Regions from separate parts of the Homo sapiens genome. Here all the other regions are linked to region 1. The links are contacts of gene promoters, found by promoter capture Hi-C in blood cells and fetal thymus (Javierre and others, 2016). All regions are on one chromosome and are shown on one strand. The core of a region is centred on a gene start or on the middle of the fragment in contact, and the rest is flanking DNA. Distances in the headings are between cores, read along the strand shown.

Region 1 (2,700 bases), core at 197-2,696:
CTATGAGAGTCCATTGTCTGGGCCATTTACTTTATTTCACTGGTCTGCCACTTCTTGAACCAACATACCACAATATTTATATTGACACTTTATCTTTTCATATCTGATATGAAAATCATTTTTTTCTAAAACATCTTAGTTATTTTTATTAGTTTATTCATACGGATGAAAAAGTTTAGGATTTTGACACATTTTACCAGATCTCATGGAATTTTCTTTGGTACTGCACTTGTTCAGTTCCCCAATCCTCAATCATGGTAGAGCTGTAGTTTTCCTTATATGGGTCCTGCTCAAATTGTTAGAAATTCTTATTTCTAAGAAATGTATTATGACTATCATAAGGCGATTTTCCCATCACCACCCCTGCTCAGGTTACTACCAATTATTGTTGGAATAACAGAAAGTGTTTTTTTCCCTATTCATCATACACATAGCTACTTGCTGCGATTATGGATTCTGAGAACGTCTTAGGTGACTATTTGGGTTTTCCACGTGGGCCATCATATCTGCAAATAGTAGTATTTCTGCCTTTTTTTTTTTTTTTTTTTTTTTTTGGTATTTCCACTTCTTGCTTCATGTTTTACTGCATTGGCCAGGGCTGGTAGAAAGATGTTCAGTGGTCACGTGAGGTTTTACTACTGACTTTATTAGGAATGCTTCTGGTGTTTCTCATCTGAGTTCCGTTGTCGCTTAGACTTTGAAATCCCTTTTTAAAAATCGTGTTCAGAAAGCACATCTCATGGAAATGACAAATATGAGAACTAAAACCGACAAATTTCTGCCCAAAATCCCACATGCAGAGCCTCCTGGCCTGGAGCCTCCTGAGGCGTCGGTTCTTTGATGACTTCCCATTTCTTTTCCCTTTTTTTTTTTTTTTTTGACGGAGTCTGGCTCTGTCGCCAGTCTGGAGTGCAGTGGTGCGATCTCGGCTCACTGCAACCTCCGCCTCCCAGCTTCCAGTGATTCTCCTGCCTCAGCCTCCCGAGTAGCTGGGATTACAGGCGCCTGCCACCATGCCCGGCTAATTTTTGTATTTTCAGTAAAGACGAGGTTTCACCATGTTGGCCAGGCTGGTCTCGAACTCCCGAACTCAGGTGATCCGCGCGCCTCGGCCTCCCAAAGTGCTGGGATGACAGGCGTGAGCCACCGCGCCAGCTGATGACTTCCCATTTCTTCCTTGGTTCTTTCGGAGCCACTTTGGGAAATTCGGTTCTATCTGCAGTGGTAAAATACAGGTCGGCTCTCCACGCGCGCGGCCAATGGACGCTCCCAGCGCGGACAGACAGGCCCTTTGCTGGAGCTGGGCAGGGCGAAAGGACCCCAGGGCGGGGCTTCAGTCGAGGCCGGCCCCGCCCACCGCTGCAGCCGCGCATGCGCCATGTACAGGCTGCTTTGGGCCCTCCCGCGTGCCGTTCTTACCCGGCCTGCCCCGCGCCGCCGCTTCCGGAAGTGGGTCTCGTCTCCTCCCAAGCGGAGCATTTGTGCCTGAAGCTGCCGGGTCTGCTACGGCACCGCGGGGCTGCAGAAACCCGGGGGCCAAGGGCGGGCTGCTTGCCGCTATGGCTGGCAGTCAGGACATATTCGATGCCATCGTGATGGCGGATGAGAGGTGGGTGGTGAGGCCGGGCCCGCACCCCGCCCTGTCTGGTCGTCTCCCAGCGGCTTCGCCGCCGGCTGCGGCCCAGGGCGGCTGCTGGAGCCTGGCGTCCCTTGGGCGTGCGCATTGGGGAGCGCCTGGTGGCCGTGGACGCAGGGACAAGTGTGGGCCTGATGCTCTGGTCCTCTTCTCCTGGCCCGCTCCGGCGGGGCACGTGCCCAGCTGCTCTTCCAGACCCGCCTTCCCTGTCAGGGCTGCCCCAAACATCTGCTCAGCCTGGTGGTTCCCCTCCTCCGAGGCCGCCTCGTCCTCTGGGAGGACAGACCTTTGCCATCTGGGAGCTGCCTTTTTTTCTGGTTCCTTAATCATAGGACATACGGCAGTATTCATGGATGTGCTGATAGATGTACCCGACCACACCCCTTTTCCCTCCAGAGCCCCTGGGGAGCCCCTCGTGCTGCGACAGTGGGGGAGCTGTGAGTTGCCTCCTGGCTGACTTCCAGTGCCCGGCCCAGAGGACGCGTCCATAGATGTTAGTTAAGAAAGCGGCCGAACATTTAGCAGTCAGGCGCTGACGTTTATTTAGCTCGCGCTGTGAGTCAGACACTGAGCTAAACGTTCCACCCTGGTTATCTACTTCAGCCCTACTTAGTAAGTGGATCCTATTATTCTTCGGAATTTACAGACTAGGAGGCACAGTCACTTTCCAGGGTCACACAACTATTAAGTGGGGAGCTATGCACCCTGCTTCATGGGGCGCTGCAGCCCACTCCTTGCATGTTTGGTGACTGCAGGTTAAGATAGTGGCAGTTCCACTGTTGGGCCTCAGGGTCAGTGCTACTCCGGGTACCAGTCGGAGAACATTTTGTGGTGATCTGATGCCATTTCTCTCTGTTGCCCTACCCATGTGATGTCAAACCCTGTGTATGTTGCAGTTTTTTGGAAGCGGTTGACTTGGGCTAGTGCTACTTGAACACTCACAGAACTTTGGCCCCCTAACTCTGGCTGCAAACCAGACTTATCTAGGAGACTTTGAAAAGTAGATTCCGGGCCAGATGCGGTGGCTGACGCCTGTAATCCCAGCACTTTGGGAGGCCGAGGCG
Region 2 (2,700 bases), core at 167-2,666, 770 kb after region 1:
ATCCTACCCACATATGGCTGACTGCAAACTCTGGAAGCAGACTGCCTGACAGCAAATCGGGCTACACTGTGTCACCCCGGGGCAAGTTACTTAACCCCTCTCTGTCTCCATCTCCTTAGACGGAAAATGACAGTAACAGAAACCTACACTGCGGCCGGGCACGGTGGCTCACGCCTGTAATCCCAACACTTTGGGAGGCCAAGGCGGGCAGACCACGAGGTCAGGAGATCGAGACCATCCTGGCCAACATGGTGAAACCCTGTCTCTACTAAAAATACAAAAAATTAGCAGGACGTGGTGGCGCGCCTGTAGTCCCAGCCACTCAGGAGGCTGAGGCAGGAGAATCGCTTGAACCCGGGAGATGGAAGCTGCAGTAAGCCGAGATCGTGCCACTGCACTCCAGCCTGGGCGACAGAGAGAGACTCTGTCTAAAAAAAAAAAAAAGAAAAAGAAAAAAAAGAAACTTACACTGTAGGGTTGGCATGGGATGAGGTGTAAAAGAATTAACGCATGGAAAGTACGTAAGTGTTAGCTCTGATTGTTTTGGACAAGTAAATAGTCCCATTCGGAAACAAGCCCGGCTCTCACATGGCTCCCCACACCTCTCAGGACGGCTCCCCACCCTACTCCGCACCCACCAGCTTAACTCCAATTTTCCTTCAGGCACCACTCCCTCCTTGAAGCCACCATGACCCTCCCCAGGGAAGGGCCTTCCTCCTCCAGGCTCTTTCCCCGCGACACGCACGCAGCCGGCCCTGGACGCACTGGAGGGGAAGGGACTCTCTGCTTATGCCCAGCCCGCCGCTGGCCGGATCGGGGGCAGCCAGTGCACCTGACTCATGCTGCCGGGGCCTGACTGAGAATGGGCGCAAACCATGTTTACTGAATGAATAAGGGAAAGGGCTGCTAACTCGCTGCGGGTGGAACTGGGGTCGGGGCCAGGGCCCAGGAGTGTAAGCTTAGTGGGGGGTCTCGGGTCGGGAAATCAAAGTGCTTCTTAAGGGTCCCCAAACGGAACGCGCTGCCCAGGAAGTGATGAGACTGACAACTCGGGAGGTGGCCAAGCAGGGGACGGACGATCCCTGCCCCTGACTCGAAGGGTCGGAGACGAAATTCCCGCCCCAGACTATGAGGCCGAGCCCCTCGGAGACTCTGCCCGGGACACGGCGGGACCGACCGCGAGGGAGCGGCGCCGGCGGCCTCCCGTACCTGCGCTCCTCCACCTCCGCGTCTCTCTCAAGCTCCAGCAGGTCCAGTTGCTTGGTCACGAAGCTCTCCACAGCTGCCGAGGCCATCGCCGCCGCCGGCCTGGGCCCCTAGAAGCCGACGTCCCGCTTCTGCGCCGGGCCGGTGTTACAGCGGACCGGTGTTCCCCGCCGGGCCCGTGCGTTACGCACGCGGTTCGCGTCGTTTCCGTTTCCGGCCGAGGCTGCGGCCATGGCAGCATCTTCCCTGACGGTCACCTTAGGGCGGCTGGCGTCCGCGTGCAGCCACAGCATCCTGAGACCTTCGGGGCCCGGAGCAGGTGAGACCTGGGATATGGGAGGAAGGGAGGACGCAGAGCGAGCGCTGCTCCCTGCGGTCTCGCCACGTATGTGCCTGGGTCCGACCTGGTGCCTTGTGTGTTGATCGCATTTGTGGTGAATATAGCACGGGTTTTGGAGTCGGGGGAACCCAGGTTCAGATTTTGATTCCTTCAGTTAGTAGCCTGAATACTGACAATAGCCCTTGAACTTTGGTATAGGCCCTATGTTATGGGGGAGAAGAGTGAGGCTCAGAGGAGCTAGGTAACGTGCCCAGGGTCACACAGCGGGGAAGTGGAAGAAGAGTACTTCAGGCGCAGTCATTTCGGCTCCAAAGCCTGTGCTTGAACCACTGCCCCCAGGCTGCGAGCTGGTCTGAAAAATGGTGATGGATATCCTCGCCTAATCTGAACTCATTCTGCAAAAGAAACAGCCGTATTTAAGGCGCTGGGCTGATACGAGGCTCCAAAAAGGTTATGTCCGTTAAAAACTCTATAAATCTCTGCTTGAAAATGGTTGGAGTGTGTATTTGTGTGCATGAGTGTTTATGTATGTTTTAAACCTGGGTTTCATGTCTCACCATGACCCCCAAAAATGGAAAACTGGATCTAACTCTATATTGGACGATATTAAAAGAATAGTACCATAATTCCCAAAACTTGGAAGCAACCCAGATGTCCTTCAGGAGATGAATGGTTACATAAACTGTAGGACATCCATACAGTAGAATATTATGCAGCAATAAAAAGAAATGAGTCATGAAGAGACATGGAGGAAACTTACATACATGTTACTAAGTAAAAGAAGCCAACCTGAAAAGGGGACATCTTGTATGTTTCCCACTATGACATTCTGGAAAAGGCAAATCTAAGGAGACAGTAAAAAGTTACATGGGGGGTAAGAGGATTGGGGGAGAAAAGGATAAATAGGTGGAGCTCAGAGGATTTTTAGGGCAGTGAAACTATTCTGTATGATATAATGGTAGATACATGTCATTATAAGTTTGTCCAAATCCATAGAATGTACACTACCAAGGGTGAACCCCTAATGTAGACTATGGACTTTGGATAACAATGATGTGTCAATGTAGGTTCATCAATTGTAAAGATTGTACCACTCTGGTGAGGGATGTTGATAGGAAGCTGTGGGCACATGGACAGGGGACATATGGGAACTC
Region 3 (2,700 bases), core at 42-2,541, 670 kb after region 1:
GGGCTCTCAGATTTGCCACTGTGCTCCCTCTCACCTGTTCCTTGCACCTGGCCCACCTGCATGCATTTATACACAAGCCTAGACCCTGAGGGCAGGACCGATACTCAGCTGGGATGCACTCTTACAGCCACACCAACAGTTAAAGTATTGAAATGCTTCCCTGCAGCTTGATAAATAGCTGCTGCCTCTCCTCCACCCCAGGGACCCCCTGGACTTTCCCACAATCTGGAAACCCCAGGGGCAACCCTGGCTCATCAGGAAGCCACCTCCCATCCCACTAGAGGACAGGGTCCAGCTCCGGGGAAGGCCGAGATCCACTCGTTGTTTTTTTTTAAATGTAACTTACAAGTGATTTTATTTCTTCAAATAGTTTCGTGTTTGTTGAAACATTGCAAGATTTTGCAAGAATAGTACAATGCCCGCCAATACCTCACCTCAGCTCAGTCATCGTTAACCCTTCACCACAAGTGCTTTCTCTCTATCTCTTGACAGATAGGCTTTTTTTCCCAGAATGATTTGAAAGTAAATTGCAAGGCTGGGTGCGGTGGCTCACGCCTCTAATCCCAGCACTTTGGGAGGCCAAGATGGGCGGATCACCTGAGGTCAAGAGATCGAGACCAGTCCGGCCAACATGGTGAAACCCCATCTCTACTAAAAATACAAAAATTAGTCAGGCATGGCGGTGCGTGCCTGTAGTCCCAGCTACTCGGGAGCCTGAGGCAGGAGAATTGCTTGAACCTGGGAGGCGGAGGCTGTAGTGAGCCAAGATCGGGCCACTGCACTCTAGCCTGACAAAGCAAGACTCTGTCTCAAAAACAAACAAACAAACAAAAGTAAATTGCAGACACCAAGCCCTTGATGCCCAAATAGCCTGTATCTTCTAAGAACAAGGACGTTCCCGTAGCCACATAGTGAAAATGTGCGTAGCCACAGTACATTGTCACATTCAAAAGCTGCAACACCGATGCAATGCCATTATCTCTGCATCGTCCATACTCACATTTCCCCAGTGGTCCCAACGATATCCTCTGCAGCAGTTGTTGAGATCCAGCGTATAATCCAGGATTCTAACACTGTGTTTAGGAGTCATGTCTCTTTGCTCTTCTTAAAAATGGAAAGGCTCAGCCAGGCGCAGTGACTCACGTCTATAATCCCAGCACTTTGGGAGGCAGGTGGATCACTTGAGGTCAGGAGTTCGAGACCATCCTGGCCAACACGGCGAAGCCCCGTCTCTACTGAAAATACAAAAATTAGCCGGGCATGGTGCCGCGTGCCCGTAGTCCCAGCTACTCAGGAGGCTGAGGCAGGAGAATCGCTTGAACCTGGGAGGCAGAGGTTGCAGTGAGCCGAGATCGTGCCACTGCACGCTCCAGCCTGGTGACAGAGTGAGACTCTGTCTCAAAAAAAAAAAAAAAAAAAAAGGGAAAGGCTCTGCAGTTTTTTGTGCGACTTGGACGTTTTTTGGACAGTCTACTCTGACCGGTGGGCAGCCTGGCACCCTTCCTGGGCACTGTCTGGTGCTACCTCTACTCCTATAGGCACCATTGTGTGCTGCTAGCTCTAGACGCTGGGACGGAGAGTTAACATCAGGTGAGGTCAGGGGCGTTTGAGGATAGAGTTGCAGCCAGTTAGCTGCTCCACAGCCACTGCCTTACAGACCCCCTCCCTGCCCCAAGTCCCTAATTGGGACCCCCCCCCTCCCCCACGCTGGGCCCCAGATGCAGGTCTGTGGGTGGGGGCCAGCCGGCATCACAGGTGTCCCTCTCTGCACCTGCGCAGATGTGCCCTGGCCTGAGCGAGGCCCCGGAACTCTACAGCCGGGGCTTCCTGACCATCGAGCAGATCGCGATGCTGCCGCCTCCGGCCGTCATGAACTACATCTTCCTGCTCCTCTGCCTGTGTGGCCTGGTGGGCAACGGGCTGGTCCTCTGGTTTTTCGGCTTCTCCATCAAGAGGAACCCCTTCTCCATCTACTTCCTGCACCTGGCCAGCGCCGATGTGGGCTACCTCTTCAGCAAGGCGGTGTTCTCCATCCTGAACACGGGGGGCTTCCTGGGCACGTTTGCCGACTACATCCGCAGCGTGTGCCGGGTCCTGGGGCTCTGCATGTTCCTTACCGGCGTGAGCCTCCTGCCGGCCGTCAGCGCCGAGCGCTGCGCCTCGGTCATCTTCCCCGCCTGGTACTGGCGCCGGCGGCCCAAGCGCCTGTCGGCCGTGGTGTGCGCCCTGCTGTGGGTCCTGTCCCTCCTGGTCACCTGCCTGCACAACTACTTCTGCGTGTTCCTGGGCCGCGGGGCCCCCGGCGCGGCCTGCAGGCACATGGACATCTTCCTGGGCATCCTCCTGTTCCTGCTCTGCTGCCCGCTCATGGTGCTGCCCTGCCTGGCCCTCATCCTGCACGTGGAGTGCCGGGCCCGACGGCGCCAGCGCTCTGCCAAGCTCAACCACGTCATCCTGGCCATGGTCTCCGTCTTCCTGGTGTCCTCCATCTACTTAGGGATCGACTGGTTCCTCTTCTGGGTCTTCCAGATCCCGGCCCCCTTCCCCGAGTACGTCACTGACCTGTGCATCTGCATCAACAGCAGCGCCAAGCCCATCGTCTACTTCCTGGCCGGGAGGGACAAGTCGCAGCGGCTGTGGGAGCCGCTCAGGGTGGTCTTCCAGCGGGCCCTGCGGGACGGCGCTGAGCTGGGGGAGGCC
Region 4 (2,700 bases), core at 129-2,628, 620 kb after region 1:
TTGTCCAAGAAAGTGTGCCTTGCTCACCGGGTCAAAGTACAAAGTCTGGGGAAAAGGCAGCTCACTCCAGAGAATCAGCAATAAACCAGGAGAGCAGCGGCCAGGCGCTGGGAGGCCGGGGCAGCACGTAGAGGGCCTGGCGCCCGCCTCACCTTCACAGAGAGGTCGGCCGCAAAGACCAGCAGGCAGAGCACCTCGACACTCTCGGTCAGGCCGCAGGGCGGCTCCCAGGGAGCAGCGCGGTAGCGCACGTCCGCCGTGCTGGTGAGTGAGGATGGGGTCTCGATAAAAGCCAAAAACAGGATCAAGAAGATGGTGAAGCTCAAAGTCCTGGAAAGGGGACAGAAACATGAAAACACAGGAGCCAGCAGCCCTCAGGGCCCAGAGGCTGGTCAGGAGCTTCCCCAGTCCGAAGCACGGGAGTTGGCGCTGCCTGAGCGTGGACACTCGTGACTGGGGAGATCACGAATCTGCTCAAAGCTCCATTGCCGAGGGCTGACCACAGCATTCCAGAAAGGAACCCTTGTTGTAGAAGGAGCCTGCCATCACAGGCCGTCTCCTTTCCAGAGAGGATGATGGTAACCGCCCTATCTATGTAGTGGGGAGCCTGCCTGGACCCTGAGACCAGGTGATCCCCAGGTGGGGGCCAGCCTCCCCTGCCACGCAAGCCGGCAGGAACCCTGAGTTCCACATGGGTGCGTTCTCACCGTTGGCATACGTTCGAGTAATACCGTCGGTAAAGCCACATCGAGCTGGCATCCACCCGGTGGTTGATGGAGCGGTACTACAAGCGAAAAGTCACATGAGGCATGACATGGGTGCATGCAGGGTGGGCCGTGACCCGAGCCCCACACCACACACGAGACAGGCCCAAGTCTCAGGCTGTGGATCACAGGGGACGCTTCAGCGTGTGGACATGGCCAGCCCTGACCCATCAGGCCCACACCATCACAAACCACGAGGTTTGCCCAACACACAAGACCTCACAGGCCACACACCCGGGGTGGGTGGGTGCGTGAGCAAACACTCAGGGAACACTTGCTGAGAGCACAGCTGTGCCCGTGTCTGCCTGCGAGGCTCTCTCTTCTCTGTGCAAGGCTGACCCTCCCACGCCCCGTGCAGCTGTGTCATCCTCCAGGATGCCCCCACCCACCCGGGACCTAGAATGGGGTGGTCCACAACAGGCCTCAGAACACGGTGCATCAAAGCAGCAAATGCGTCCAGGATGCAGAAGACAAGTCCTCCGGGGACTGACGAAGAGCCGTGCCCAGAGGCTCCACCCTCAGTTCTCTTAACCTACAGTCCAGCAATGGAGGCCTTGGACCCAGTCAGTCGCCCCTGGAGGGGCGAGCCAATCGGAGGGCGGCCACCCCCCAGGCCCGGCCACAGGGAGCAGGTGCCACCGACCTGAATAGCATCTTCGATGAAGACCACAGCCTGATCAATGCAGAGGTCCCACCTGGCCGCGGCACCTGCAGGCAGAGGGGACACATCAGGTGACCGAGCAGGATGACATGGCCTCACCCTCCAGGATACCCGTGATCAAGGAAAGATGCCGGCTGTGGTTCTTCCCAAGGCCGTTTGTAAAGAGATGACTCCACCCGGCAGTGGGGCTGCATGTACCTGCCCAGGGCAGGGACCAAACCAGGTAAGTGCCTCGGCATCAAATGCACAGGCCAGGCCCAGGGCACGGCACCTCCGCATGCAGCGCACACAACTAGCAAGCCTGTGGGAAGCGGCACATCCTGCAGGGCCCTGGCACCAGCGTCGGGGTTCAGAGCCCGGCTCCTCCACGTGCTGGCAGGAAGGCTGTGGCTGGCTCCTCCTCTGTCAAGTGGGGCTATTTACAGCCACCCAATCGGCTCCCCAGAGGGTACTGTGAGGTGCAACGCAGGAGCACAAGAGCCCCCTGCCACGCTCCCCAGGCATGCTCGGTACATGGGGCTGCTGTCACCCCTCTTCCGCTCGGCCCTACCTGGCTCCTGCACAGTCTTCATGAGCCAGGACACTGTACCCAGTGTCCCACCCACCCCCATCAAACCAGACCTCGGATTCAACAGTGACAGGGAGAACTGGCATCTAGAACCCAAAGGCACTGCCATGAGGCTTCATGAGTGCTACCAAGGTCCCATTCCCTCACTGTCCCGGTCCATGGGCCCAGGCAAGCCCACCCAAATCACTCCCAGGGTCAGAGCTGCAGGAACGCCCGAGTCCCCCAGCCTCTGCCGGTGCCTTCTGTGGTGAAGGGTGGCCGCCCGCCTTTACCAACAGCACAAGCAGGGTGGAGCCTCCCGGCAGGCCTGGGCAAAAGCGGCAGTGGCTCCTGACTAGGAGGGGCCTTCAGGAAAAGTCAGGCGGCACAGAAGCCAGGACCCAGCACCCTGGCCTGCTCACAAGCCCCTCACCTGCCACAGAGCAGCCAGCGGGCGCACCTGGTCAGCCACTGAGCCACTGCAGGGAGCCTGGGCCACCCACCCGCATCGTAGGCACGGGCCACCTCTGGCCTCGCTGCAGAGCTGCTCCCCAGCAGGCCAACAGGGAAGGAAAACTCAACCCGAAGCAACTGAGGAGCCCGGAGAGGCTGACACTTCCCAGCACGGGGAGAGGGTGAAGCAGCTGCTTTTTCAGTTGAGACTCGGCTTTCACACCTGGCCCCTTGGGGCCCACAGCTGCACCAAGACAATGTGGTGACATGGGAGG
Region 5 (2,700 bases), core at 95-2,594, 830 kb after region 1:
CCCCAGCAGAGACCTGTCTACGACGTAAGCCAAGTGAAAACAAAACAGCCTTACAGACAGCTTGCATCCTAGCCTTCCTTTAAAACAGCGAGCCCGGGAACCGCAGGGAGAGTTAACTGCAGCGGTGGTGGGGGGCGGGATCAAAGGAGAACTTTCATTTTCTCTTCTAAATTCTTCTGCGGTAACAACTAAATGATACAGAAAGAAGGATGGTTGCAAACATGGATTTTTTCATAACTAGAAGAAGTGGTCGAACTTAAAAAGAGCAGGGTTCATAAAAGAGGTTTAAAAGAGTCTTTGTTCATAACATCGGTGCATTTATGGAGCACCTGCTGTATGCAGAGCCGCCAGCTCGCGCCTGGAAGCATTGCGGGCAAAGATAGGGGAGGGGTGGCTCCCGGTCAGGAAGACCCCCTTGGCCCTCCTGTTACGCTTGGGGCCCCTCTCCCTCCCCCTCAACCCCCTGGGTCCCCTGCAGCTGCGCTCGCCCTAGACTCCTGGGACCGGTGGATGTTCAGTTCCCGCTCCCGGCCCCTCTCCCGAGCTCCAGCACAAGGGTCTCTCGGTCGCTCTGCCCTGGCCTCCAGCTACTCCTCTCCCAGCACCTATTATGTTCTTGACGCTGGAAGAATTATTTTAGTAAATCTCACCAAAGCCCCCCAAGTGAGGCATTTTTATCCTAGCTAGATGAGGAGGAGCCACGCTGCCTCTGGATCGCGATGACTGCCACTCGTGGTATAAGGTCTGATTTGGGGCATGGGCTGTGGAATCAGATCTGGACCCAATGTCCGATCTATCACTTCCCCGCGCTTTTTTTTTTAGAGACGGGGTCTCGCTACGTTGCCCAGGCTGGCCTCGAACTCCTGGCTTCAAGCGACTTCCCGCCTCCCGAGTAGCTGGGATTACAGGCGCGCCCCACCACTCCCTGTGGATCGGTTGCTTCTCAGCTCGGTGATGTGGGGTAACTTATTTCCTGGCCCGCGACCCTTGTCTGCATGAAAGAGTCAGGGGTGAATACCATCAGGGGGTGCCTGGAGCATTACACGGGGCAATGCCGATAGATAAGTCGCGAGGATCAGCCAGGCACGGAGCTAAGCGATTTTATGCGCACGGCCTCCACGAGATGGCTCGTTTTACGGATGAGGAAACTGAGGCTCGGAGGGTGAGGAATCTCGTCCTAGACCCCATTCCGGCAGAGGTCGAGGACGCGAGCACCCGCTCGAGCCTCAGTTTCCCTCCCCTCCTAGCCCCGCGGACGCCCCGCCCCGCCGAGGCCCCGGGCCCGCCCTCCGCGCGCCGGGAGTCACCCGCCTGCAGGCGCCGCAGCCGGACCCGCCTCAGCCAATCCGCTGCTGCCGGCGTCGGGTGCGCTCGGCCTCGCCCGCGGCCCTCCTTCCCCGGCTCCCGCTCGCCGCTCGTTCACTCCACCGCCGCCGCCGCCGCCGCCGCTGCCGCTGCCGCTGCCGCACCTCCGTAGCTGACTCGGTGAGGCCCGGTCGCCCGCGGTGGGGAGGGTGGCGGGGCGGCCCTGCGGGCTGCGGGGGCCGGGGACGGGCGGGGCGCGGGGCTGCCGGGAACCGGACCGGGTGGGGGACGCCGCCGGAACCGGGGCGCCGAGAGGAACCCCGGTATTCCCCCCGGACGGCGGGGTTGTGGAGATCCTGAACCCAGAAAGAGGCCGGGGCTCCCCATGTTCCCCAGGGGATTGGGTCTGAGGGTCCACCGGGGGTCGGTCCATCCGCAGGCGGGTCCCGTGCGGCCGCGGGAGGGATGCTCGGCCCTCCGGACTTGGCTGGACGCCTCCGGCCCGGGGCCAGCGGGGCCACCGGCTCCCTTGTCTCCCACTCCTTAATCCGCCCTGGACTGGATTGAGTCTGAGGGTCTGCCCAGGGGTCGGTCAGCCTGCGGGTGGCCGCGGGAGGGATGCTGGACGCTCTGGATGCTTTCCAGGATGCCTTCGCCCGGGGCCAGTAGGGCCTCCGGCTCCTGTCCCTGCCCATCCCACCCTGGCTCTGGAGAGGATTGGGTCTGGGGGTCCGCCCGTGGGTTGGTCACCTACGGGCAGGTGCAGTGCGGCTGAGGGAGGGGTGCTCGGCCCTCGGGATTCGGCAGGGCGCCGCTGACCCCATCCCAGCGTCCGTCTCCCCGGTCCCCCTCCCCATGCCCGCCCTCGCGGTGCAGCCGTCGGGACACGCCCTTGGCGCAGGGACTCCAGGCGCGGTCCGAGCGCTGCCGTGAGCAGGATGAGGGTGCCGGGCCCAGTGCCTGCTTGGGAGCGCCCCGCAGCCTCTCCCGTGCAGCGCTGGGTCAAGGGCGGGTGGGCGCGGAGCATGTGCCCAAGGTCGTGCCGGGCTGGGAGCGGCGGGGCCGCGGGAGGGTGGGGGTGTCACGTGGCCGTGCCCTGGCGAACTTGGCCTGCGAGCCCGACGGTGCGGTCAGGGCCACGCGGGGCAGCCCCTTCTCGGAGCCACCGCCGCGGCCAGCCAACAGCCGGCTTCTTTCGGTTTGTCAGGAGAGGCCATGGGTCAGCGTCTTTATAATGTAAATCCGCCCTTGGCTTTCGTTAAAGCCGCAGAACTCAAAGATGAGGGCCGATCTTACTTTAAAAAAAGAAAACAACTCAGAGAGTTAAAAATCCCAACTACCTACCAGGTTAAATACATAACAAAGTTAATATTCCCAACTCGGCACAGGCTTTCG
Region 6 (2,700 bases), core at 154-2,653, 730 kb after region 1:
TACTGGTTGTTTACAAAGTATCTGCAAAGGGCCAGGTGTGGTGACTCACGCCTGTAACCCCAACACTTTGGGAGGCTGAGGTGAGAGAATCACTTAGCCCAGCAGACCAGTCTGGGCAACAAAGACCCTATCTCTACTAAAAATTTTTTTAAAAAATTATCTGGGCATGGTGGCATGTGTCTGTAGTCCCAGCTACTCAGGAAGCTGAGGTGGGAGGATCTCTGGAGCCCAGGAGGTCGAGGCTACAATGAACCGTGATTGTGCCACTGCACTCCAGCCTGGCCAACAGAGCAAGACCCTGTCTCAAAAAACAAAGTCTCTGCAAAAGATAACTTAAATATTATAGAGCAACAGTCTCCAGCCTTTTTGGCACCAGAGACCGGTTTCGTGGAAGATAATTTCTCCATGGGCCAGGCCGTGGGGCGGCAGGGGGAATGATTTCAGGATGACCCAAGCGCATGACATTTATTGCACACTTTATTTCTATTATTGACATTGTAATATATAATAAAATAATTCTACAATTCACCATAATGTAGAATCAGTGGGAGCCCTGAGCTTCTTTCCCTGCAACTAGACAGTCCCATCTTAGGGTGATGGGAGACAGTGACAGATCATCAGGCATCAGAGTCTCATAAAGGAGCACGCAGCCTGGATCCCTCGCATGCGCAGTTCACAATAGGGTTCGCGCTCCTATGAGAATCTAACGCCGCCGCTGATCTGACGGGAGGCGGAGCTCGGGCGGTGACGCGAGCAGTGAGGAGTGGCTGTAAATACAGATGAAGCTTCACGGGTGCACCCACCACTCACCTCCTGCTGTGAGGCCCAGTTCCTAACAGGTCATGGACCCGTACCCCTGGGACCCCCTGATCTAGAGAAACATCCATGTAAAGTTAGCGGATTGAACACACACATCTACATAAGGCCACTAAATAAATTGATGCCACAGAATCACCTAAAGGCTCAGGAACTGGGGGCCTTGGGAGCCCAAGAAGTGGGGTGGGAAGGAGCTAAAATAAGGCGGGTGGATGGAAGTCTTTAAAAGAAGCAATCAGTCATGGAGACAGAAAATGAACAGAGATTCCAGGGGCTGGGGGGTTGGTATTTGATGGGGATGGAGTTTCCATGTGGGAAGATGAGAAAGTTCTGGAGACAGATGGTGGTGATGGTTGCACAATGCTGGGAATGTAAGGGATGCCGCTGAGTTGTACACTTGCTTACACAATGGTTAAAATGTTAAATTTCATGTTATAGATATTTTACAATTTTTATGAAAGCAGCAGCAATCAGATCTTCTAATCCCATCTGCTACTCAGAGAAGCCTCCTCCTCTACTCTGAGAAAAGACCAAATACCCGACTAGGCTCTGCAGTGGGTAAAACAGAATGAGTCTGCCTGAGGGTCCCAAGGCATAGCTGGGCGGGGGAACCCCGTACTGAGTGGAGGGTGAGTAAGCAGGTGTATGAACAGAGACTGTGATTGCAACCTGGCACATCCAGGGGGAAAGACTTCTGGTCCCTGGCTCAACGGCCGGGCAGCTGATGCCTCAGTGAAGCCCACAGTCAGCGAGCCCTCCGCACGGTCTTGGAGAGTCAGTCCCTGGCTGATAGGAGGGGACAACTACCAGAATCTGCAGAAAGCCACGATGCGAAAGGCAGACGGAAGCCATTTGTAATCGAAACACTGCAGGAAAAAGAAAGCAGCAAACAATACAAAACCACACCCACAGACAGAAAAGAGAAGACGCAGCCCCACAGGGAGAGCACTGCAAAAAGGGACATGAGGGAAGGGCTCTTCGATGCTGAAAGGAAAATGGTGTGAATTTTTAAAACCTAAACAAAAATAAAATGGTTGGAAAATAAGGCTGAGGAACATCTCATTGTTTAAAAAAGGAAGAGATGGAGAGATAGAAAACAGGAAAAAAGATGTAAGAAGGCCAGAGGCAGTGGCGCACGCCTGTAATCCCAGCCCTTTGGAAGGCTGAGGCAGGTGGATCACTTGAACCCTGGAGGCTGAAGCTTCAGTGAGCTATAATCGCACCAGTGCACTCCAGCCTGGGTCACACACTGAGACCCTGACTCAAAAGCAGCGACGGCCTGGTGCGGTGGCTCACGCCTGTAATCCTAGCAGTTTGGGAGGCCGAGGCGGGTGGATCACTTGAGGTCAGGAGTTCGAAATTAGCCTGGCCACATGGCAAAAACCTGTCTCTACTAAAAGTATAAAAACATTAGCTGGGTGTGGTGGCGGGCACCTGTCATTCCAGGTGTAATTCCAGCTACTCGGGAGGCTGAGGCAGGAGAATCGCTTGAACCCAGGAGGCGGAGGTTGCAGTGAGCTGAGATTGCGACACTGCACTCCAGCCTGGGCAACAAGAGCAAAACTCCATCTCAAAAAACAGCAACAACAACAAACCCAGAAACTGATTCTCTCTCTTCAAGATAAAATCTCGAGGGGCGGCCCTGTCCTGCCACTTCCAGCTTCTGGGGGCTCCACGTTCCTTGGCCTGTGGCTGCACCACGCCAGCCTCTGCCTGTGTTTGCAGGCAGCCTCCTTCTCTTCTCACATGTCTCTTAGACGGACACCTGTCATTGGATTTAGGGACCATCCAGGTAACCCGGGATGATCTCCTCTCAAGAACCTTTACTTAATTACATCTGCGAAGACTCTTTTCCCAGATAAGGTCACATTCGCAGGTTTGGGG
Region 7 (2,700 bases), core at 127-2,626, 640 kb after region 1:
AGCTGCACTCTCCAATGTGGCTTTTGTTGCCCGTCACGCATGTCTTTTGGAACCAGCAGTGGAGAAAGACTTATTCTTGGTGGGGACAGTGATGTTGGCTCAGCCTGAGGGTCCCTTATGTCCTGCCAAGGCCGAGGGCTGGTGCCATCGACTGGGAGCTTTTTCTCCCAAGGCACTCAGAGGTTGCACCTAACTTGGTTTGAATATCAGAAATACCTCCCTGGGTTTCCAAAAACTGCCCCAGTTGTGTTACTTTGGCCAAAGTGCCCATCATCTCTCCCCCTTTATTTTATAGGAGGAAGAAATGATGTCTTCCGGGGAGGCTGCCGGGGCTTCTGTGAGGTCCAGCAATGAGTTGGAGGCACCAGCACTGCACTGAAATCAATGTCTCCCAAGACGGAGAATGCCTGGGGAGGCAGGAGCTCCGCTCCCCTGCAGGAACCTCCCAAGAAGGACCCGAGCGTCCCCGCAGCCTGGAGACTGGCCGTCTGCGGTTGAGCACCCGGGACCTGCTCCAGGTGCTTCTTGGCCATATTTACTTCCCCGGCTCCGGGTGCGTCAGGCCGACTGCCCACGTGCAGCTGGGTTTCCTCTGTTTAGCTGCATCCACAGGGGTCATGTATCCGTATCGGTCTTTCTAAGGGGAGCTCTGTGGTTTTATTCATTCATTCATTCATTCATTCACCCACGCATCTACTGAGCACCTACTACATATCATGAACTGTCCTAGGCACTAATGAATAACACCAAACGTGCTCATTGTAACAGTCTCTGATGATTGCTAAGATCACGTGGAAGAAAGCAAAAACCGTCAGCCTCATGGTCATGTGAGCAAAGCCTGTGCCCTGACCCACCCACCGCCAGCCCCATGAGCTCTGGCAACCCCAGGATCTCACTGAGCCTCGGTTTCTGTATCTGTAGAATGGGGATAATGATGGTGAGGGCCCAGGTTTGCAGACAGAAGGGACATGCGGTAGGGCCCCAGGCCAGGTTTCTGCCCTCCCACCCCCTTCCCTTCATGCCCATTCTCTGGGAGAAAAAAAAAAATGCTGTTTTAAAATCACCAGGTATTCTCCAATCCCTTGGGAGGCCAAGGCAGGAGGAGCACTTGGGCCCAGGAGTTCAAACCCAGCCTGGGCAACATAGGGAGACCCCATCGCTATAAAAAATTTTAAAAATTAGCTGGGTGTGATGACACATGCCTGTAGTCCCAGCTACTCGGGAGGCTGAAGTGGGAGGATCGCTTTGGCCGGGGAGGTCGAGGCTGCAGCGAGCTATGATCCCATCACTGCACTCCAGCCTGGGTGACAGAGAGAGAACTTGTCTCAAAAAAAAAAAACAAAAAAAACAAAAAAAACTCATGAGCTATTCTCCCATCCCTTGTCACACTTCAACCTTGAAACTACTGCCCAGAGCAGCCCAGGAATTATCCCTGTGTTGCACGCTGGGAAATGAAGACTCAGAGAGGCTGTGTGCGTTGTCTGAGGTCACACAGTGAGCGAGGGGCACAGTGAAAGCCAAGCCTGGCCCTGGAGGGGAAGGAGAGCGTGTGAGCTGGGCACAGGGCCCAAAAATGGGGTGTTGGTGAGCAAACCCCCTTGTCCTGCCCTGGGGACCAACCCCTGGGAAAACCAGATACTTCCCAGGCCAGGGCAGGCTGCACGTGCTATTTTGAGTTCTCTTGCATATGACACAAGCAACAGGAATTCGGGGAGACCCAGGCCATTTGCTATGTTGTGAACCAAATGGCTTGTGGTGGCAGCCAAGGAAGGGGCCGGTGGGGGACGAGAGTCACTAGGGTGGCGTCGGGAAAGTGAGGGCTGAAGTCCGAGCCCAGAGGCCTGTGGGGTTGGGGGTACAGAGAGGGGAGAAGTCTGGGAGGGGCCCCTGGGATGAAGCCCTGGGAGAGGGGTCGGGGGTGCAGAGAGGGGAGAAGGCTGGGAGGGGCCCCTGGGGTGAAGCCCCGGGAGAGGGGGTTGGGGGTACAGAGAGGGGAAAAGGCTGGGAGGGGCACTGGGGGTGAAGCCCCAGGAGAAGCAGGGGCCAGTCAGGCCTAGCTGGGAGGACAGCCAGCGGGGTGGAAGCTGGGGTCTTGCCAGCTCTTAGGCCAGGGCCCTGGACGCTCCCGCTGAGACAAGGATTTGAGCACAAGTAGTGTGTTTTGGTGGAGAGCCTGGGAAGGGTGGGAGGGAAAGAGGGAAGGGGCGCAGGGGAGGGGAGAAGCCAAATAAGGCAAGTTTTCAGCAGTGGCAGCGGGGCTAGGCCCCGTGGAGACCTCTGGGAGACCACATAGAACAAGCCTCAGAGGTATCGGGGAGGTGGGAAAGCAGGCTGTTCTCCCCACTCCCGGTGGTCCCTGGCCATGGCTGGGAGCTGTTCCTAGGGCACAGATCTCCCTGCGTGGAGGGGCGCAGGGGCCGGCAAGGGGGCACCACCAGTCTGTCCTGGGTCGGGGAGTGCAAACGTGCTGCAGGTGGCACCATGCACCCCTGCAAGGAGGCAGTGCCGAGCTCAGACCCTCCCCCGACAACCACACACAAGGAGCACCCGAGGTTTGAGGCTGAGGTGAGCTGTGATGGCATGGCAGCTCCAGCCGCGCGGCAGGGTGAGACTCTGTCTCTAAAAACAGTTTTTTAGAGACAAAGGCGGTTAGGACTTTCACTCGTCTTCTTTTCTGTTTCTTTCTTTCTTTCTTTATTT

What was found. Contacts are between HindIII fragments. The CHiCAGO score rates a contact against its expected background, and 5 or more counts as called.
Region 2: a contact is called between the fragment with the promoter of MRPL21 here and the fragment with the promoter of LTO1 in region 1, in 8 of 17 cell types (total B cells, naive B cells, M2 macrophages and 5 more). The highest score is 8.4, in total B cells.
Region 3: a contact is called between a fragment that was not itself captured here and the fragment with the promoter of LTO1 in region 1, in 1 of 17 cell types (monocytes). The highest score is 7.2, in monocytes.
Region 4: a fragment that was not itself captured here is called in contact with the fragment with the promoter of LTO1 in region 1 in 14 of 17 cell types (naive CD8 T cells, activated CD4 T cells, naive CD4 T cells and 11 more); the score reaches 11.9 in naive CD8 T cells.
Region 5: a contact is called between the fragment with the promoter of CPT1A here and the fragment with the promoter of LTO1 in region 1, in 16 of 17 cell types (monocytes, total B cells, erythroblasts and 13 more). The highest score is 14.0, in monocytes.
Region 6: a fragment that was not itself captured here is called in contact with the fragment with the promoter of LTO1 in region 1 in 4 of 17 cell types (erythroblasts, megakaryocytes, M1 macrophages and 1 more); the score reaches 6.8 in erythroblasts.
Region 7: a fragment that was not itself captured here is called in contact with the fragment with the promoter of LTO1 in region 1 in 1 of 17 cell types (monocytes); the score reaches 5.8 in monocytes.

The regions. Positions count from the first base shown.
Region 1 is chr11:69,674,099-69,676,798 of GRCh38, reverse strand. LTO1 (LTO1 maturation factor of ABCE1) reads left to right here and starts at 1,446. Exons shown (of 5, transcript NM_153451.3): 1 at 1,446-1,609. The coding sequence starts at 1,560. RefSeq lists enhancers at 1,085-1,284, 1,154-1,654 and a silencer at 1,775-1,864. The HindIII fragment of the contact is 5,284 bases long and covers 1-2,700 here.
Region 2 is chr11:68,902,548-68,905,247 of GRCh38, reverse strand. It overlaps MRPL21 (mitochondrial ribosomal protein L21), which reads left to right and starts at 1,416. Exons shown (of 7, transcript NM_181514.2): 1 at 1,416-1,525. The coding sequence starts at 1,438. It overlaps IGHMBP2 (immunoglobulin mu DNA binding protein 2), which reads right to left and starts at 1,357. Exons shown (of 15, transcript NM_002180.3): 1 at 1,210-1,357. The coding sequence starts at 1,295. RefSeq lists enhancers at 875-934, 1,265-1,384, 816-1,543. The HindIII fragment of the contact is 5,018 bases long and covers 961-2,700 here.
Region 3 is chr11:69,005,341-69,008,040 of GRCh38, reverse strand. It overlaps MRGPRF (MAS related GPR family member F), which reads left to right. Exons shown (of 3, transcript NM_145015.5): 3 at 1,780-2,700. Among named protein-coding and RNA genes, the nearest start is that of MRGPRF-AS1, 5.7 kb to the left of the region's middle. RefSeq lists an enhancer at 1-422. The HindIII fragment of the contact is 8,290 bases long and covers 1-2,700 here.
Region 4 is chr11:69,052,805-69,055,504 of GRCh38, reverse strand. It overlaps TPCN2 (two pore segment channel 2), which reads right to left. Exons shown (of 25, transcript NM_139075.4): 2 at 1,408-1,472; 3 at 708-784; 4 at 153-330. Among named protein-coding and RNA genes, the nearest start is that of TPCN2, 5.2 kb to the right of the region's middle. RefSeq lists enhancers at 1,067-1,196, 1,871-2,444. The HindIII fragment of the contact is 3,802 bases long and covers 1-2,700 here.
Region 5 is chr11:68,840,560-68,843,259 of GRCh38, reverse strand. CPT1A (carnitine palmitoyltransferase 1A) reads left to right here and starts at 1,344. Exons shown (of 19, transcript NM_001876.4): 1 at 1,344-1,485. RefSeq lists an enhancer at 425-950 and silencers at 1,096-1,455, 1,476-1,525, 1,736-1,815, 2,076-2,175, 2,226-2,505. The HindIII fragment of the contact is 25,295 bases long and covers 1-2,700 here.
Region 6 is chr11:68,947,149-68,949,848 of GRCh38, reverse strand. No RefSeq gene overlaps it. Among named protein-coding and RNA genes, the nearest start is that of MRGPRD, 32 kb to the left of the region's middle. RefSeq lists an enhancer at 2,350-2,700. The HindIII fragment of the contact is 1,232 bases long and covers 788-2,019 here.
Region 7 is chr11:69,035,081-69,037,780 of GRCh38, reverse strand. It overlaps LOC124902701 (a long non-coding RNA gene), which reads left to right. Exons shown (of 2, transcript XR_007062753.1): 2 at 296-765. Among named protein-coding and RNA genes, the nearest start is that of TPCN2, 13 kb to the left of the region's middle. The HindIII fragment of the contact is 8,914 bases long and covers 1-2,700 here.